Linked DNA regions of Homo sapiens: all the other regions are linked to region 5. Evidence: promoter capture Hi-C in 16 types of primary human blood cells and fetal thymus (Javierre and others, 2016). All regions are on one chromosome and are shown on one strand. The core of a region is centred on a gene start or on the middle of the fragment in contact, and the rest is flanking DNA. Distances in the headings are between cores, read along the strand shown.

Region 1 (2,700 bases), core at 130-2,629, 220 kb before region 5:
TATGTTTTAGATTAACCATAAAACATCCTGTAGAGGAAGGACCGGAGGCAGGGAGACCAGCTGGAGGCTGTCCCAGTCACTGGGGTGAGAGATGGCAATGTGGCCTGGACTAGGCTAGGAGCCTTGGAAATGGAGGGAAGTGGACTGATCTGAGAGCTATTTAAGGGTAGGATGAACGGAATTTAGGGATTGATTAGATGGAGGTCTGAGAAAGGAAGAGGGGTAATAATCTCAGGTTTCTGGATGGGCATTTAAGATTGTGGTGCCATTTAATGAAATGGGAGCTAAAGAAGGGAGAAAAATGGTATGTTCCATTTTGGACATATGTGTGTTAGACATACGACACATGGGGAGATGTCCTGTAGGTGGCTGGAAAGTGAGTTGGAAGCTCAGGAGATTGATTTGGATTGAAGTTAAGATTTAGAAGCTGCTGGCATATGGTGTAGCATTTACATGGAAGATCATGAGATCACCCTGATAGAACATGTGCAGACAAAAGCAGAGCAAACATTCATTCATTTATTCAAGAAATTTATTAAGCACCTACCATGTTCCAGGAGCTAGAAATCTAACAGTGAATGTAGAACTTACTTTCTACTGCTGGAGTAGGCAACCAACAAATAAAGACACAGTGGCATGTCAGGTAGGCACACGCAAAATGAAGGAAAATGAGCAGGGTAAGGAGATGCTGAGAGTGACAGCAGGTGGCCAGGAAAGGCCTCTCTGAAGAAGTGACATTTGAGCAGATATCTGAGTGAAATGAAGAAGAGAGTCATGAGGATCTGCGAAGGAGGAGTGTTTCAGGTAGAGGAAATAAGTTCAAAGGCTCTGATGGGGAAGGTACTCAGTGTATTCAAGGAACGATGGGGATAATGTGGCCGTGGTAGAGAGAGCAGATGGAAGAGGGGCCAGACTGTAGGGTCTTGTAGGTTGGGAAGAGGACACTGGATTTTATTCTGTGTGATAGGAAGGTCTGGAAAAGTTAGGAGCAGAGCAGTAATATAATCTGATTTATCTTTTTTTTTTTTCTTCAGATGGAGTCTCTCTCTGTCACCCAGGTGGTAATGCAGTGGTGTGATCTTGGTGCACTGCAACCTCTGCCTCCTGGGTTCAAGCGATTCTCCTGCCTCAGCCTCCTGAGTAGCTAGGATTACACGTGCGCACCACCATGCCCAGCTAATTTTTGTATTTTTAGTAGAGACAGGGTTTTACCATGTTGACCAGGCTGGTCTCGAACTCCTGGCCTCAAATGACCTACCCGCCTTGACCTTCCAAAGTGCTGGGATTACAGGTGTGAGACACCACACTCGGCCTGATTTATCTTTTAAAGGCTTATTTTGGCTGCTGTGCAAAGAATAGATCGTGGGAGGGCCGGAAAGGAAGCAGGAAGATTGCAATAGCACAAGTGTGAGATGACAGTGACCTGCATCGCGACATGAGCGTGAAGGAGGGAGAAGTCTGGATGCCTTCCCATTCCTGATACATTGGATCAATAAAGTAAAAAGAGGTGCCAAGACTCAGAGGTGAAATAGAAAGGAGGAGACTTCGGCTTTAGCCTGTTCTGATCTAACCACATAGTCTCGGGGACATTATCCGACCCCTCTGTACTTTACTTTCCTTAGTCCAACATAAGTCCTTAACACATGGCGTGCCTCCTGTGTGGTGGACATTCAGCGCCAAATGGAACGGACAAACAGCTACATTCTAGTAGGGAAGAAGACAAGCAATTTTCAGAAGAAATGTTACCAAAGATCCCCCAGAATACTGTCATAGAAAAGTGGACAAGGGAAAGGGACAGCGCTGGATGGGGTTTGTAAGAAAAGCCCCAGTAAAGGCGTCATGGAAGGTGAGTCAGGAACAGGACCTCCACCCTCACTAGATCTGCCTCTCAGCTTTGCTGCTGTTCACTGAGATGAGGGATGGAAAAGCACAGGCACTACAGCAGTGACAAAGGACTGGACTGTCTGAACTTCGCTCAGCTCTCCTCCCCATTACCCAAAATATATACCCATCGCTTCCATTCGGACCTGAAAAACAGCAACTCCTTCCTTTGTGCTGCAAAGGCCTTTAGGGGCAGCGCCTTCTCTGGCACCTGTCTCTAGGGGCCTTCATAGGATGGTCCCAAGGGTGCCCGATCTTCTAGGAGCTCACAGCACCTAGAACCACTGCCAAGTGTAATACCAAACACCATCATAGGCCTGCTACCCCTTTCAGACTATGAACTCCTGCTGGGGCCCAGGACGATGCGGGTAGAGGGCGTCTAAACAAATGACTATTGAAGGAGTGGTCTAGAAAGAAATGCCCCTTTTGTCTCCTTTTCTCAGCTCCCCATGGCCTTCCTTCTCCCTTCCTCCTTGTTCCCCCTCAGCAGCCCCACACCCCTTCCCACCAGACCCTGGCTTCTCAGCAGGTAGTGTAGAGATCCTGGCTCTGCCAGGGTGGGGTCTGAGCTGGTGCCTAAGTCAGCAGGCTTTGCCCACAGCCCCATCCTGACAGGCGGTGCCTCTGGCAGCAAAGTCATGGCCCTGATTCCTCTGTCTCCACATTTAAGAACATCTCTAACTGCTCCTTGGATAGCTCAATTAGTAAAGTGAATATATTATATAAAGTCTAAAAGATTAAACTATCATCGTCAGCCCATAATTTCATGAAGAAGTCAGGGGACCGTATCCCTCTTATTAACTCTATAACAAATGTGAT
Region 2 (2,700 bases), core at 32-2,531, 250 kb before region 5:
TCTTCACCAAAATGCCAGGCGGCCAGAGGTCTGACAGCGCCTGATTGAGTGTGTGAGTGCGTGGGGGGAACGCCCGCAGCCCCCTCCCCTCCCATGCAAAGATGGATCGCTCATTCCGCCTCCCGTCCACATTCATTACCTCACCTCCCTCCCCACCGCCCCAGTCGCGGAGTGCCTGCCACCTCCACTTCTCTGCTTGCCACAGGTATCCCTGCAAGCAGGAGGAGGGCAGGGAGGGGAGGGGCTCTGACCCCATCCTCAGCCTTACACAGGGCAACTCCAGCTCCAAGAGCAGGGAGGCGACTCTGCAGAGGCAGGGACCGGGAGTCAGGGGAATCAGGTCCCAGCCTGGAGGCTCCCTAAGTTGTATGACCTCCAGAGAGTCCCTTTTCCTTGCTGAGCTGCTAGAATACCTTTCCTGCTGGACAACAGTGAGGCTCCAACAGGGAGTGACTGATGGTAAGCTGCGAAGGACAGGCCTGTCGAGGAGGAGAGAAGAGGTCATGCCAAGGCAGCCCTCTTCCTAGCTTGGGCCAGGCTCCAGCCAGCCCAGCCCTCTCGCCTCGAAACAAGGCCTCAGGTACCCGGGGTCCTAGATCAGCCCTCTGCTGCCCCCCTCTGTTGGGAATGGTTGACCATTGGGAACAGGCAACTCAAGTGCCGGCACAACCTGCCCCTTCCCTGCCATCTTCCACAGCGAAGCCTGGTGCAGAATTGGACATATAGAGGTCGGGCGTCTTGTTCAAAGGGAAAGCCCTCCCCTCCTTGACCACTCACCCACGTCTGGCCTTGCAGCTCCCCACCGTGTGATTGCCTCTCTGGCTTGGCATGTTTGGTTTTGTCCCAGTTCTTTTGCATGAGAGTTCCATTCTCGCCTCTGCTTGTCCAAGCAACAAATTCCATCTCTATTTTTTCTCTACAGACCACAAAAGGCATGGCTTGATCGACTGGTGTCTGACAGGGATGAGGAGGGTTGAAATGAGGGTGAGGGTGACTGTAATGACAGATGGCCATGGAGGCTGGGACTTTTAAGAGTATGTGTGTGGGTATATGTGTGTGTTCATGTGTACACACGTGTGTCCTACCCCAACCCCTGCAATGGAAAGACTTCCATTTCCTAGTGACCAAGAAACAGGAACTTCAAGCAGAATTCAACAGAGCTGCCTCTTGCTAGCTGTGTGACCTTGGGCAAATCACTTAACGTTATTGAGCTTCATTTCTCCTTGTGTGAAATGGGGATAATGATATCTAACTCCCAAGACTTCTGTGAAGATCCAGTGAAATCAGGGCTGTGTACAAGTGAGGAGTCATTAGTGCCTCCAGTAACACACTAGCAAAGTTTGTTGTTTGTGCCTATATCTGCCCCATCCTGACACCTGCCCTGCCTTGCCTATATCTGGCCTTCTTCCCTTCTATGATCCAGATCTTTTACCACTCAGTAGGTGCCCTGGCCCTAGCTCCTCTGGCCCCCATGGAGTTCCTTCTTCCTATCCATCATTACCCATATATCTGGTTATTGGTTTATATGTCGGTTTATCCATCTGTCCATCTACCTATCATCTATCCATTATCTGTCCATTTGTAATAACAACAACTGTCTATCAAGTATCATTATATATTTGGCTGTAGGTCAATACTACACATACTTTATCTCATTAATCCTTACAGCAGTTCTGTGAGGTAGGTGTTACTGTCTCTATCACACTGATGAGGAAAATGGGGCTCAGAACAATGTGGTGACAGCTACAAAGTTCAGAGCAGGGATTTAAATCCAGTTCTGTCTGAATCCAGACCTGAACAATACCCAACTACCTACCTACCTACCCACTCACCTAGCTAATGATTCAATATGACTCCACAGATGTTTACTGGATGCCCATTAGGGGTCGCTATAGCACAGATGCCAGACAATAATGAAGACAGGCGCACTCTCTGCCCTCAGGGAGCTTAGGACCTAACAATGGATAGAAACATGAAACGATTGTCCCCAGAGTGGTCTTAGGAAAAGAAAAGTACATGGGGCCGGTGTGGTGGCTCAAACCTGTAATCCTAGCACTTCGAGAGGCCGAGGTGGGAGGACTGCTTAAGGCCAGGAGTTTGAGACCAGCCTGGGCAACACAGTTAGACCCTATCTCTACAAAAAAATTAAAAAATTAGCCAGCTGTGGTGGCATGTGCCTGTAGTCCCAGCGACTTGGGAGGCTGAGGCAGGAGGATCGCTTGAGCCCAGGAGTTTGAGGCTGCAGTGAGCTATGATCGCACCACTGCACTCCAGCCTGGCCTACAGAGTGAGACCCTGTCTTAAAAAAAAAAAAAAAAGTACACAGAACTAGGGGAGTATATCATCTGGTCTGGAAGGTGAAGGAAGTGACATTCAGCGAAGGCTGAAGGATGCGTGGGAACCAGTCAAACAGTGATTGGGGGAAGTGGTGCTCTAGATAGAAAACAGCACATTTGGCCGGGCGTGGTGGCTTATGCCTGTAATCCCAGCACTTTGGGAGGCCGAGGCGGGCGGATCACGAGGTCAGGAGATCGAGACCATCCTGGCTAACACAGTGAAACCCCGTCTCTACTAAAAATACAAAAAAAATTAGCTGGGCGTGGTGGCGGGCGCCTGTAGTCCCAGCTACTCGGGAGGCTGAGGCAAGGAGACTGGCATGAACCCAGGAGGCGGAGCTTGCAGTGAGCTGAGATTGCACCA
Region 3 (2,700 bases), core at 33-2,532, 230 kb before region 5:
GTCACCTGCCACCCTCCTCACACCTGTGCTGGGGCCCTGCTCATAGCCAGCCCTAAGCTCCAGCCACCTCTGCCCCCTGGCCCAGCAGTCGGCCCAGCTGGCTCACCTTCTCAATCAATACTGTGCTCTTAATGGGCCCAGCTACCAGCACCAACCAGGGGCATTAAATGTTAATTATATCTATTTGGATTTGAAAAATTTTATTACTCGAGTTAATTATGGTTGGAGTCATAAAAAGGTTTCAGAGTGAAAGGACTGCCTTATTGGGGCCACTTTCCCCAAGACAGATTGGAAAGGCAAAGAAGAAATAAAATCATCTGGCTTAGAGGGCGGCTACTCCACATCCACCAGGCTGAGCGTGCTGGGCTAAGGACTCTGAAGCCTCCAAGGGAAAGGCCTGAAGAGCAGCTCGCCTACTGGCCGTGCTGGTGCCCGGGATGCAGGACAGGCCTGTCTTGGCAGGGCAGGTCTGCCGCTTGGCAGCCCCAGCAGGAGAGATGCGGTCAAGTAGAGAAGGGCTCCCTGCCAGCGAGCCTCCATGGGAGCTGCCGTCCTGCTGAGAACAGCCCGGCTCCCAGAGATCAGGATTGCAGGATATGCCCAGGGCTCCTCTTCAAGTGGTCCAAATACTGGGACCTTCTCTTGCCCAGCTCTACCCAGCCCTGCCTGATTGCTTCCTGCCAGCGCCGCTTATGATTCATGGGCCTGACCTTGGGCTATAAGGTGTTCACTCTAGCGGGTACAGAGGCAGGATTTATGGCCTCGGGGTCAGCTGTAGGCAATGACACAGGCAATAGCTGACTCACAAGGGTGCCCCATCCCCAGCCCACACATAACTCTCCCTTGCACACACAGGTACACACACACATCTGGACATAGCCGCAAATGCACATTCATGCCAGGAGCTATCTCACGCACGCATCTGGTAATGGGAGTTCATTTGTGGAGCAAGCACTGTGTCTAAGGTGCTTTACAAGCATTTGTCTAATCCTTAACACTGCCCCTGTAAGGCCGGTCCAAGCCAGAGCTACTCATTTTACAGAAGAGGAAACAAAGGCTCAAGCAGGTTAAGTTATCGGAACACATGTGCCCTAGAAGAGAACCAGCCCTACAGAGAACCCTGATGCCTGTCTGTTGGCCAGGGAAACTAATACCACCAGAGAGCTAGACTACAGCAGCCTGCGGGGCAAGAGAGACCATTCCACCCCCTCCCTCTTCCCTGTCAAAGGAGCCGAGGCCAGCACAGAGGGGGCGGGAATGTTCCCCATCTCTTTCCACCCCCTCCTTGCCACAAGGTGATGAAGAGAAGGGGAAAAATGCCTTAAAGAAGATACAACAGTGGCCGGGCGTGGTGGCTCATGCCTGTAATCCCAGCAATTTGGGAGGCTGAGGTGGGCAGATCACCTGAGGTCAGGAGTTTGAGACCAGCCTGGCCAACATGGTGAAACCTGTCTTCACTAAAAATATAAAAATTAGCCAGGCGTGGTGGCGGGTGCCTGTAATCCCAGCTAGTAGGGAGGCTGAGGCAGGAGAATGACTTGAACCTGGGAGGCAGAGGTTGCCGTGAGCCGAGATTGTGCCACTGCACTCTAGCTTGGGTGACAGAACAAGACTCCGTCTCAAAAAAAAAAAAAAAAAAAAGGAAGAAGAAGAGAAGAAGATACAATAGTGGAATTTCAAACTGCACCAACTTTAAAAAAAACAGAAGGAACTGGGAATTAGGGGGAATTTGCCCATGTTGTTAAGGGATCAACTGCCCATCCAAGGGCAGTTGAGGTGTCTCCGGTAGAGACTGGAGGGGGACAATATTTCATATATAAACTTTTAATTATCATTGTTATGATGCGGTTACTGAGAACCCCATGTAAAAGGAGTTAGCCACTTCTCTCTTCAGCTTAATATCCATTGCCTCCACTTGATTTTCCATCTTCCCTCAATTTTCAGAACTTTTGTCTTTTCTCCAAAACCAGTGCCTACTGTCCCTTAGAGCCACTTCTCTCCATCCTCAGCAGGGACCTTGCCCTTGCGATATTCCTCTCGCTCTTGCATTTTTGCCACGAGAGCGGTCCTTTCTCCTCTGTCTTCTACGTTGTGTGTAACTGTCTCCTAAAAGGGCCAACCCTTCCCTGGACCTTGCCGCTTCCTCTATCTCCTTCCTTTCTTCTGTCTTCTAGTCTGCCTCCTGGAACAAGGACCTGTGCCTGTCGCCTCATTTCCTTCCCCACCGTCTGGGATGGAGCTCTTATCGCTGTCCTGGTGTCATCCGCAGCAGCTCCCTGGGTCCCTGGAGCTGTGACCCCCTCCTCAGGCATCTGGGGCTCTTCCTCAGCGCTCCTGTCCTCCTTTCCACACCACCCTCTATCCTTACCTTGTCCCTCATGCCTCTTCCACTGACCTGATCCGGGGACCTTGTCACTGCTGTGCCCTTTGCTCTTAGAGAATTTATCTTTTTACCCTCTTGAACGTCAACTTTCCAGGACTCCCAAACCTGCCTCCAATTTGATGTCTCTCCTGAATGCCCACACCGAATTGTCAACTGCCCAAAGGACATGTCCATTTGGACTCTCCATTGTCACCTCCAGTGAAACATGTTAAGTCAGAAATAATTATCTTCTCTTCAAAACAGCTCCCTTTCCACCACCTCATTTCTTCCCATTAAATAACTACCTAGACTCCCCAAACACAGAACTACTGATTAAA
Region 4 (2,700 bases), core at 93-2,592, 200 kb before region 5:
GGAATCAGAATTGTGGGCAGGGAGACTAGTAAGGAAGCTATTGCAAAAATCTAAGAGGAGGGACAAAGACAGGTCTGAACTAGAACAACCAAGCAGTGGAGATAAAAAGGAAGAGACCAAAAAACGAGTGAAAAGGTGGGTGGTGAAGGTGAGCTGGGAGGGCCGTTGCCTTCTACCTGCTTGCTATGAAATTCCAGCTGGAACTCAGACTGGCTCCCCACCTGGCTGCATGCAAGGAACTGCTCTGATGCAGGGCACTGGGTTCCCAAGCCCCACAGGTTTGCTTCAGATGATTTCTAGGGAAAGGGTAGATCTTCCTGACCCTCCATTCTCTTCTCAGCTGATTCCAAGTCCCAGATCAATGGGATCCCCTTCAGCCCAACTGTTTCCTGTCCTTGGGTCTGACATTGGAGCTTTTTTCTCCAGGACAGAGAGCTTTATTGAGTATGAATACATCAGAGAGCACAATCTTGAAATTCCTGCCAGGATTCCTATTCTGTCTCAGCTTGGGATCCAGTTCTAGGCTAGGGGAGTAAGACAGCAAAGGAGTAAGGGTAGGCGAGAAGGACATGTCCTAAGCAGTGGCAAGCATTCCTCAATTTTTTTGCCCAAGTCCCTCCTCAATGCCTACCAGGCTGCCAGCTCCCAAATTCTGGGCTTTGCCTCTTTAATGGCTCTTGCTCTCTGTCCTGGGTGAAGCCTGAGTGGATAAGAAGACCCAGCCCTCCTCATCTCCATCCTTCCTCCATTCCTGGGGGCAGGGGCCAGAGAGATATCTGTTCGCTTCTGCAGATACACACATCACCCTTCTCCATTCTGTTCTGTGCCCTGAAAGCTGATTTCTGTCTTCTGCCCCAACAACCAAGCTTGCTTGCCTTCAGGATTCCTATGGGGTTTGACACATGGAGGACATTAGAGAACGAGAGGAGAGAAGCAGTTGGGGTGAGTATTGCCCTGGCTCCTTCTCTGCCAGCCAAGGGTTAGCATTCCTTTCCTGAAAGTCACAGCTCCTCCTGCAGCCGTGGTCATAGCCGCAGTTCTTCCTGGGTGCTGGTATATGCTCCTTCAATCCCAGGGGTAGTAACAGCTCCCCTGTCGTTGCTAGCTCTGAAGTACTTCACCTTCTCTTTATAAATCGTCCTTTCCTTAAACTTTCCTTTGTTACCCCATTCGTGGGCCTCTGTTTCTTGCTAGAACACTGACTAGTATAGCAGGCATTCTCAGAGATGGGACACTAACTGGACCATATATTTATTCCAGAAAGTTTTCATCAGTCTTATCCTACTTTGTCTACCATGAGTCTTTCAATACTAAGTGCCTCCTCCTGTTGATGGGCAGAGTGTAGAGAAACCAAACAGCAATTGAATCCCACGCCCTTGGCCTAGGCAGCTTCTCATAGCCACTAGGGGTTCATTTCTACAGGTTTGCAGAGAGTACAACAATGAAAAAGAAGTCATCTCGTTTTTAGTGAGAGAGAAACTGAGACTCAGAGAATGTCAGGACTGGGTAGCTGGATGCCATGAAGCATTCATTCATTCATTCATTCATTCATTCATTCATTCATTCTTATACTCAGCAAATATTTGTAGGGCACTTATCATGTTCAAGATACTATGCTAGTCACCATGGATACCACAAGCAATAAACAAAATATAATCCTGATGTCACTAAGAACACAATTTTGTTGGAGAGACCGACAAGCAGGGAGGCAATTACAAGAAGATAACCTTATTAGAAGAGTGGGTATGAGGAGTGCTGTGGAAATACACAAAAGTGGCACCTATCCTACTCTTGTGGGGTGGACAGAAGAAAGCTTCCCAGAGGAAATGAGTCTAAGCTAAGATCTGAAGGAAATCTTGGAGTTGACAGGGGGAGGAAGAGATAGGGAGAAGAAGAAGGGAACAGTATGTGCAAAGAGAGGAGCTGGAACACAGTGCCTTGGGAAAAGGAAAGTAACTCAGCACGGCTGGAATTTGTAGCTCAAGGCGGGGCGTGGTGAGAGATTAGGCTGGAAAAGTGGTAGAGATCAGATGACATGTGGTCTTCTAGGCTGCATTAAGAAGTTTAGAGGCCGGGCGCAGTGGCTCACGCCTGTAATCCCAGCACTTTGGGAGGCCAAGGCGGGCGGATCACGAGGTCAAGAGATCGAGGCCATCCTGGCTAACAAGGTGAAACCCCGTCTCCACTAAATATACAAAAATTAGCCGGGCGTGGTGGCGGGTGCCCGTAGTCCCAGCTACTCGGGAGGCTGAGGCAGGAGAATGGCGTGAACCCGGGAGGCGGAGCTTGCAGGGAGCCGAGATTGCGCAACTGCACTCCAGCCTGGGTGACAGAGCAAGACTCTGTCTCAAAAAAAAAAAAAAAAAAAAAAGAAGAAGTTTAGAATAGCAGGGAGCCATTGATGGGTTTTTGTTGTTGTTGTTGTTTGTCTGTTTGTTTTTTGAGACAAGGTCTTGCTCTGTTGCCCAGGCTGGAGCGCAGTGGCACAATCATGGCTCACTGCAGACTTGACCTCCGAGGCTCCTACCTCAGCCTGCCAAGTATCTGGGACTTGTATGTGCTGCCACATCTGGCTAGCTTTTTCTATTTTTTTTGTAGAGGTGGGGTCTCACTCCTGTTGCCCAGGCTGGTCTTGAACTCCTAGGCTCAAGCAATCCTCCCAAAGTGCTGGACTTACAGGCACGAGCCGCCACACCCAGC
Region 5 (2,700 bases), core at 155-2,654:
CCAGCTTCCCTCTCCAATTTAAAAGCTCCTTGAGAATAGAGGTGTGTCGTTATTCATCAATGAATCCTCAGCAACAGAAACAGTGCCTGACACTTAAGAGAGGCACTATAAATACAGATGGACTGACTGACCAACTGGGGTTAATGTGTAGGTAATAATAGGAGAATCTGTTCCAGCTCCAAGAGTTGGGGGATAGTGCCTCCACTTTACTGACCTCGGGATAAGTCTGTCCCTGCTGCTGGATATTCCCTCATTTGTTCGCAGACATTTATTGCGGGCCTTCTTTATACCTGCCCTATGCGGTGTATTACTGATACAACATGAACAATATGGAAAAAATGCTTTTCCTAAAGGACTTAAAACCCTGTGGGAGCGACAACAAGGAAACAGACAATTATAAGACAATATGATAAATGCTATAGGTCCACAGCAGAATCACCTAACCTATGACGTGGGTGGGATTAAGGAAGGCATTCCCTGATATGGGGATTACCAGGCACTCTCAGCTCAGGTGGAAACCGTTATGGTAAGGTCCGCTCTCAGAGGTGGTAGGGCCCAGAAATGACATCATCCTAAGTGTAAGTATGCAGACAGCACACAGAGGGGCTTGGTAACTGAAGCTGGGCCCAGAGGATGGGGTCCTGACCGATTGGGAAGCTGTCAAAGCCATCATTCCCAGCTCATAACCTGGGACCCATGACTACCCAGAAAGGCATAACCAGGATGAAGAAACACAGGTCTCTCCAGCTTACTGGAGAGACTGACTGGGGAAGCTCCTCACAGCTGAGGCCAGAAACCTTTTAAACAGAAGTTTCCTCTGAGTGGACCTGAACAAGCCAGTTCCCTCTTCCTTAGGACGGCCCTTCACAAATCTAAGCATTTTCCTCTTAGCTTAATCCCTCCTTGTCTCAGGTCTCCCCCAGGCCCACATCCGAAAGTAGATGACAATAATTACTTGTTGAATGAACGAATCATGAGGAGTCATGTAAATAGAATTCTGTCACGTTGTGAGCCCACATTCACCTTACGGGTATATTGGAGGGCGGGAAAACGGAGATGGGGGGCTCCACTAATGTGTGTCTGTGATCCTGGTTAGATCGCTGTAGGCCATAGAAAGTTTCATTTTAAAAAAATTCCTTTCACAGATCAGAAGTGATGTCCCCGTCCCCGTCTTCTCTTCTGAGTTTGTGCAACGTCAAAACTACAAGTCCCATAAGGCCGGCGGCCGGGAGTCACCATCTTGACATACCTTAGCGCGCATGTCGGCGGGAGAGCGAGCGTTTGGGGAGAAGAAGCCCCGCCTGACTGCAGCCCATTGGTCAAAGGGGTCGGCAGCGGGCTCAGCGGTTGGCCACAGCGCCCGCCCGTCCGCCGCGTCGGTCGGGGTCAGAGTGCGCGGAGGTGAGTCGGTGTGTTGTGGACTCGTGGTGCTGGCTGCCGCTGTTCAGGCGGCCGGGAACGGGCGGTGGGGAGCGGGCGGAGCTGGCCCTGCCTCTGCCTGGCCGGCGCCGCAGTCGGCGCGGGCCGCGCCCGCCGCCGCCAACTGCCCTGAGCGCTTGCTGAGGCCGAGGGAGACGTCGGGGCCTGCACCTGGAGGGAGCCTGCCGCGCTGGCCCCGAGGAGGGGGCGTTGCCATGGCGACAGCCTCTCCCGCTGCTGACGGGGGGCGGGGGCGGCCCTGGGAAGGAGGGCTGGTCTCCTGGCCCCCCGCCCCTCCCCTTACTCTCCCCTGGACTTGGATGGGCCCGAGTTGGGGGCAACACCCCGGGGTGGGTGATGCTGAATGGCCCCGCCAAGATTGGGCCCTGGTTAATGCATGCGGGGTGAGGGTCGCGGTGCGCAGAATTTATGCAACCTGGGGTGCTGGCCCATGTGCTTACCCTGGATGCTTACTTAATCTACTGAGTAATGTTCTGGCGGAGGGGGAGCGGGGCAGAGCTTTGCAAGACAGGATGGGTGAGTTTATTAAGGGGGTTGACTTACTGGGATTACTAGAGAAGAAAAAGGTTTGACTAGAGAGGCTAGAAATGGAGCATGGAGATTGTGGGTAGAACATTCCCTTGACCCTCTCGCCAACACATGCCCACACACCAGGTTAGCAGTTTACCTCTTTGTAAATCTGAAGCGGTGGTAGTAGTGATGGTGGAAGGAGTGAATAAGGGCCTAACCTGGCTAGCTTTCTGTTTGCCTGTCTTGCAAATGGTCCAGCAACAGGTGTTTTCTTAAAAAAAGCATGAACTTGGATTGAGGCTTGACTGCGAGTTCTTGCAAAATATAACTGCTCCTTGTTGACTTGGAAGATGCTGGATGTGGGGCCCCTCAATGGGGGTTTGGATTTTGTCCTTAGAGCTGGATTTTGCAACAAATAGTGCCCATCGTTGTGTCTGCGAGAGGTCTCTGGCCACTTCAATGGCATTTACTCTTGTCAGACATTTAATCAGTCTCCCAGCGGAAGGGCAGCAAAACATGAATCCTATTGGCTAAAAGAGTGTACGCTATTCAAACTATAGTAGGTTGTGAGTGGCTAAATGAGTTTTGATTGTAGAGTTTCTTCCAGAAATTGGCTTCATCAAATTCTGCTTTATTCTGACTTTATCATATACAGCATGCCTTGTTTTAGTGGGTTCTTGCTTGGAGCTTAGTTTATTATACCTGAATCTCCTACCATTTAAAAGCCAATTTATAAACAGGGACTTGGAG

What was found. Contacts are between HindIII fragments. The CHiCAGO score rates a contact against its expected background, and 5 or more counts as called.
Region 1: a fragment that was not itself captured here is called in contact with the fragment with the promoter of ERI3 in region 5 in 8 of 17 cell types (megakaryocytes, erythroblasts, monocytes and 5 more); the score reaches 8.1 in megakaryocytes.
Region 2: a fragment that was not itself captured here is called in contact with the fragment with the promoter of ERI3 in region 5 in 6 of 17 cell types (megakaryocytes, monocytes, neutrophils and 3 more); the score reaches 9.7 in megakaryocytes.
Region 3: a fragment that was not itself captured here is called in contact with the fragment with the promoter of ERI3 in region 5 in 5 of 17 cell types (neutrophils, M0 macrophages, megakaryocytes and 2 more); the score reaches 7.3 in neutrophils.
Region 4: a contact is called between a fragment that was not itself captured here and the fragment with the promoter of ERI3 in region 5, in 3 of 17 cell types (endothelial precursors, M1 macrophages and megakaryocytes). The highest score is 5.4, in endothelial precursors.

The regions. Positions count from the first base shown.
Region 1 is chr1:44,569,405-44,572,104 of GRCh38, reverse strand. The region is part of intron 2 of RNF220 (ring finger protein 220); the gene reads right to left. Among named protein-coding and RNA genes, the nearest start is that of MIR5584, 25 kb to the right of the region's middle. The HindIII fragment of the contact is 7,268 bases long and covers 1-2,700 here.
Region 2 is chr1:44,607,544-44,610,243 of GRCh38, reverse strand. The region is part of intron 2 of RNF220 (ring finger protein 220); the gene reads right to left. Among named protein-coding and RNA genes, the nearest start is that of SNORD145, 62 kb to the left of the region's middle. RefSeq lists enhancers at 1-157, 158-719. The HindIII fragment of the contact is 3,975 bases long and covers 1-2,700 here.
Region 3 is chr1:44,586,087-44,588,786 of GRCh38, reverse strand. The region is part of intron 2 of RNF220 (ring finger protein 220); the gene reads right to left. Among named protein-coding and RNA genes, the nearest start is that of MIR5584, 42 kb to the right of the region's middle. The HindIII fragment of the contact is 5,716 bases long and covers 1-2,700 here.
Region 4 is chr1:44,552,238-44,554,937 of GRCh38, reverse strand. All of the region lies in intron 2 of RNF220 (ring finger protein 220), which reads right to left. Among named protein-coding and RNA genes, the nearest start is that of MIR5584, 8.1 kb to the right of the region's middle. The HindIII fragment of the contact is 947 bases long and covers 869-1,815 here.
Region 5 is chr1:44,353,961-44,356,660 of GRCh38, reverse strand. It overlaps ERI3 (ERI1 exoribonuclease family member 3), which reads left to right and starts at 1,404. Exons shown (of 9, transcript NM_024066.3): 1 at 1,404-1,769. The coding sequence starts at 1,635. RefSeq lists enhancers at 1,120-1,169, 1,070-1,570 and a silencer at 1,440-1,669. The HindIII fragment of the contact is 14,792 bases long and covers 1-2,700 here.